2 separate regions of the Homo sapiens genome follow, and region 1 is linked to region 2. The links are contacts of gene promoters, found by promoter capture Hi-C in blood cells and fetal thymus (Javierre and others, 2016). All regions are on one chromosome and are shown on one strand. Each heading gives the region's core, a stretch centred on a gene start or on the middle of the fragment in contact. The rest is flanking DNA. Distances are from core to core; before and after follow the strand shown. Region 1 overlaps LINC01378 (long intergenic non-protein coding RNA 1378). Region 2 holds the start of NDST3 (N-deacetylase and N-sulfotransferase 3).

Region 1 (2,700 bases), core at 133-2,632, 470 kb after region 2:
CCTAAAATGATTTAAAAATTAGTATGACATTTATATGAATCCATTAATTTTTTAATTTTCCAAGCTCATGGGTATGGTGTTATTTTTCAGAAATTGGTAGACTCATATCTGTGTTTTTTCTTTTGGCTTTCACGTGCCTGGGACTAGGGTTATATGAGAAAGAATGTAATTCCCTGAATTAATACTCTGACAAAATTTAAACTATATTCAATAATACATCCTTTGGGAAAAGCAGAAATTAACATCACTGTCCAAAACTTGGAAGATGAAATGTTGATTTCTACTGTGTTCATATTTTACTTGTCTGTTTTCTTGGGATAGAACATGAAAAATGGCAACAATTTATTTTAGGTTTAATCAGGTGATGTTTCCTTGCTTGCTACTATCTCATATGTGTTCTTTGTATTAAAGTAAATCAATATAACCTCTGTCATCTGGCACGTGGCAATAATATTTAATTTTTTTATACCAGTATACAGAAAGAATTAGAAAACTAAGGGCAGAAGTATAAATTCAGCATCTTTCTTTGACTCTTAGTCTTGATGCCCTATTTTGGTCTTCTGGGATATGGATTATCTCTCCATCTCATAGGATTTTACCACCGGTTTATGGCAGTGAAGACATCATGATGTCAGAATCTGGGGGTAGGAAGTAGCAGACTTAGAAAGACACATGCTAGAGCATAGGAGATAAGCCCCATAAAAATGTAAGGGTCTGTCAACTTAGTGAATGTTCTGAGTGCAGGGTTTTGCATATATTTGGAATATCCCCTAAATGTGTAAAAGTTTTTGTACCTCTCATTCATTTTTCAATTTTAGGAAGGATATAATAAAATTAATTGCGAGAACTCAAATGACTGGATCTTTTTTTCATGTTGCTTTAATACCTTGCTTTTCAGTGGGTGGCATAAAAATGGGTTTCTTATGTTGCTACTCTTTTCATTTTTACTGAAATTTTATTTACCTTATATTTATTTGTTTAGGTAATTTCTTACCAAGTGTTGATGAAGCTAATAGATTTACCAATAGTAGACCCTAACCAAAACTTCTGAATATTATTCTATAATTTTGGCAAATGTCCATTACTTTAGAAAATTGTTACTTCTATGATAAAAAACACATTCACTTCTAAAATCATGCTTTAAAAATCCACCATTAGCTGGCTTATTTACACAATTAATTGTATTAAAATAAAAAGATAGTTTGTCACTCTGTATAGTGTGATTCCTATATTTAAATATAATTGTTTAGTATAACAGTGCTTTTACATGTATCAGCTTTAATTTTCTTGTGGATTACAGACCTGTGAAGTTTACAGCATATATAAATATAATGTGTATTCTACAAAAGAAAAATAATGATGTTTCAAGAATTTCTGTTCAACATCCAGGTTATAAAACTTAGGTTGAGAGTCTCAAAATTAAGTATTTTATTACTTTAACAAATATTTTCATATTCTTATTAAGCAACCTCCTCTGTTTCTCACAATTTAGAAGTCCATAAAAAAAACTTGTGTATATGTAGTAAGCAGAAGTGATTAAAAGTTCATGATTTATTTTTCTGAAGTTGTGTGATAGGAAGAGTTGTTATTTTAAATAAAATTATTTTTATATTCAATATTTAGATAGGTAATAACTTTTTAGCTTGACTCTAAGTACATCATTAGGTGGAGCAAAAAATGATTTTGCTTTGCAGTAGACGATTGAAAATTAAGTGACTTTTTAATGCCATATTGATGACTATCTCTAAATGATCTAATCTTAGATTTTTATTGAAATACTCAGAAACTGCATACTCAATTAGATGGACCACTGACCTATTCTGGTTTGAAACCTTCTATACATTTTTTATTCTCACAGTTAATTTTGTTACTTCCTCTAGAGCTCTTTTTGTAGATACTCAGCAGTCATGGTCTCTATGAATGAAGTAAATCTAGACGAGTTGCCAGTACTCAGATTACTCACACATATTTGTGTAAAATATATTACACTGAAAACTTAGGCGATAAACGTTTTTCACCTATCAGGAAAATATATTAGAATAGAATCTAACACCAACACTGTGCTAGAATAGAACTTGACACTCACACTGTGCTGGAAAATATAAATAATCATCAAGATTCATATATGCTCCTGTAATGTCTTCATAGGGCCTCTTACAAAGTAGATGTTCAATAAGTATTTACTTAAAGTTTGTAAAAGCTCTCTTTGCAAATTATGGTCCCTTCCTTAATGCTTATGACCACCACATGAATAAAGAAAACCACTGATGAATGTGATGATTTCTTGAGTCTTTCAAGCAGTTCCTTTCATGAAGTAAGCACACAGTGATTTCTTGTTGACAACAAATTGCAGTAATATACACAGCTTTCACTTATCTTTGTCTCAATGTCAACAGACTATTTTAGTTTGCTATATAATCCAATTACTTTTCTAAAATAGCCACATGAGCATCTCTTAAGCCTTTGCAGAATCTAAAGATAAAATGTGAAAATATACTAGCCTAAAATAGCAATCTTGTATTTACAAAATGATGGCATATATTTATGCCATGCTGTCTTTTACATATATATGTACACAAACATATACAGATACATCTATGTGTTATAGAAGTGTGTGTTAGTAAGCACATACACATTCACAGATTCATATATATAAAATATATACACACTAGTTATAAAAATATGTTAATATTTTATTCC
Region 2 (2,700 bases), core at 115-2,614:
GACTATGAAGAAAATTAACTCATGTGACAAGCTCAAAATTAACATTATTTACACAAAGAAACAAATCTTCTGTTTTACCATCAAGATGATAAAGAAAAATGATAACAAAATTAGAAATGGTAGATACTGTGTTAACCAGAGAAAGAAAAAAAAGAGCTTATCTTAGGCAAGCCTCTTTATATGTTCAGTACTATTTTAAAAAGGAGCCTCCTTCAAACTTATATTTGAAATCTCCATCTTAAATATAATATTGATAGGAAGGTATGGATGAAGAAAAAGGGAAAAAAATTCCCTTCAGCTGAATATCGGATATTCTAGAGTTTCTCTGCCATATCATCCTGCTCTCTGGTGGTGAACAGCATTGCTCAGTAGTTGATAACATGAAATTTTCTAAGGGCAAAAAAAAAAAACAAAAAAAAAGTGTGTGTCCCAGATCAGTTGCACACATCTCAATATTTGATTTGTATTTTAATTTAATACAAATGTATTAAGAATGTAGCTGTTTGCATTGTCTAGAAGGGTTTTCTTCTAAACTCTTCCAGATTACATGTTGCTATATTTCAATATGTTTATAAAGAATATAGATACTAATACATTTTCGACATTAAATAACTCTGATGCTTAAACAGTATCCAGCTATTAGAAAAACTATTTGAAAAAGGATCTGAGTAAACCCCTTAAAGATGTAACTTTGCTTTTACCTGCCCCCACAAAATGGATATATTAAATAGAAGATATATCTGTTTTCTTTAAATTTAAAGTTTCTGTATTTGATACCTAGATTGATTCTTTCCATTTCCATTTAATTTTATTAATTGTATAGTTTTAAATAATGTCTATAAACTGCATCAAATAGAAAGCCTTTTGAGGATCATTACTGTGTAGATAGGCAGGTAGTTTAAAGTCTCTGATATTCCTTACAAAATTCTGTCAAGGCAACAGACATGTGTTCTGTTAAACAGATCTACTTCAGAATCATTATAAGTTGGTGAATATCTTAAACAATTACAAGAGGTCATTTCTTTAGTACCATAATCTTATGAAAGGGAAGCTTTAAAATCATCCCTGAATGAGACGGTCCTTTGTTTCACTTAATTTAATCAAAATACTCTATATTTCTTCTTCAAGAATAAAATGAAGCACTTGTTCAATCTTGAAATTTTTAGATTATTTGAAAGCAAAGTTGTTATCTCTTAAAAGCCCCTACATTTATGAGTGAGGCATTAATGCACAGTATAAATAAATAAATACACTTACCTGGAATTAAAGTTCAGAGCTGAAAATGCTTGAGAAAGTTGCAATAGATGGAAAAGAAACGGAAACAGTACCACTCGTTACCATCGGCTCAGGCTTTTTGACTTTACAAGTGGTAGCAACACCAGTCCTGGCCCAGTACTCTCATGTTATGTAACATCTTATTAATATTAGCCATCAAACTGCTACCAAGCTGGTGAGGCACTAGAGGGCAAGAGTGTCACATGCAAGACCCGTCGCCAAGGGACCGGCTTTGGTACCACTTCGGGGGAAGACAGATGCTAACTAAGCTGATGAATAACAGGATGCCCGAATACAACAGCAAACTTGTAACGTTCCTCAAAGAATATTTTACATGTCAATTTTCTGACTAGCGGAAGAGTTAACAGGTTAATAAATATGAGCAAGCAAATAACCACACCATGAAAAACTTTTAGGATTATATTTACAAACCCACAGTCACTCAAGAGGCTGTTTGTTTTTTTCTTTCCATTGTCTAAATAAACTTATTTAAAACAGGAGAAAAAAGCTGGTTAAATAAAACGAGTGTCGGTTTCAGGACTCCCTCATTCCAAGCCGCGAGAAACTTGTCTGGTCGAGATGCCGCCTCTGGAGTCCGCATTCCAAGGCGCCCGGATCGGGTTTCTGGGCGAGGAGACCGGCCCCGTCCTCCATGGAGATTACCTGGGGCTGCAGCCGTCCGCGGGCTCCTCCTTCCCTCGGGTCTTCGGCCTCAGCCGCTCCCCAGGGCCCCTCGTCCGGGTGGCGCTTGGGTGCTACGCGGTGCCCGGGGTCCGGCGGGGGCGACAAGCGGGCGACCTCTCCCCTCCGCGCCCGGGATCTGCGCGGACACAGCTGGTGGCGACTTCGGCCGCTCAGGCTGCGGCTGCGGGGCGAGCGCAGCGGGTGCGCCGGGGACTCCTGCGCTGGAGAACCACGGCCCTGGGACCCGCCCGGCCGCGCCTCCGCCGCCCTCGCCACCGCCTCCCGGGCGGGAGCCGCCGCCTCCCAGCTCCCGGCCCGCGCGCGCCCGCCCCGGGGAAGGGGAGGGAGCGGGAGCTGAGGACGGGAGCCGCCTCCATCGACCGGGCTCCCGCCCGGACCGGCCCTGAGGATCTGGCTGCCCGGGCCTCGACAAGGAGACCCCGGGGGTTCCGCCCCGGCCTGCCAGTTCCGACCGCCCCTCCCGGCGGGTTGGCGGCGGCCGCCAAGGATGAAACGTCTTGTGCGGCCAGGGAAAGGGGTGCGAGTCCCCGAGGCGACGCTGGAAGGGTGGGGCGCACCCGCGCGGTCCCTTCCTGTGGTGCTCCTGCCGTTGGCACTGGACCAGGGCGGCTGCGAGGCTGCAAGAGTTTCCTCTGTTCGCCAGTTTTTTTCAAATGCCATGTGTTTCAGCTCCTGAAGACAAGTGGAAGGCCAGCAACTGAAGAGATATTTTGGATTCAA

Evidence for each region. The method cuts DNA at HindIII sites, captures the fragments that hold promoters and counts their contacts. A CHiCAGO score of 5 or more calls a contact.
Region 1: a contact is called between a fragment that was not itself captured here and the fragment with the promoter of NDST3 in region 2, in 1 of 17 cell types (megakaryocytes). The highest score is 5.5, in megakaryocytes.

The regions. Positions count from the first base shown.
Region 1 is chr4:117,566,935-117,569,634 of GRCh38, reverse strand. All of the region lies in intron 2 of LINC01378 (long intergenic non-protein coding RNA 1378), which reads right to left. Among named protein-coding and RNA genes, the nearest start is that of LINC01378, 140 kb to the right of the region's middle. The HindIII fragment of the contact is 8,689 bases long and covers 1-2,700 here.
Region 2 is chr4:118,033,150-118,035,849 of GRCh38, reverse strand. It overlaps NDST3 (N-deacetylase and N-sulfotransferase 3), which reads right to left and starts at 1,364. Exons shown (of 14, transcript NM_004784.3): 1 at 1,258-1,364. The HindIII fragment of the contact is 5,573 bases long and covers 1,054-2,700 here.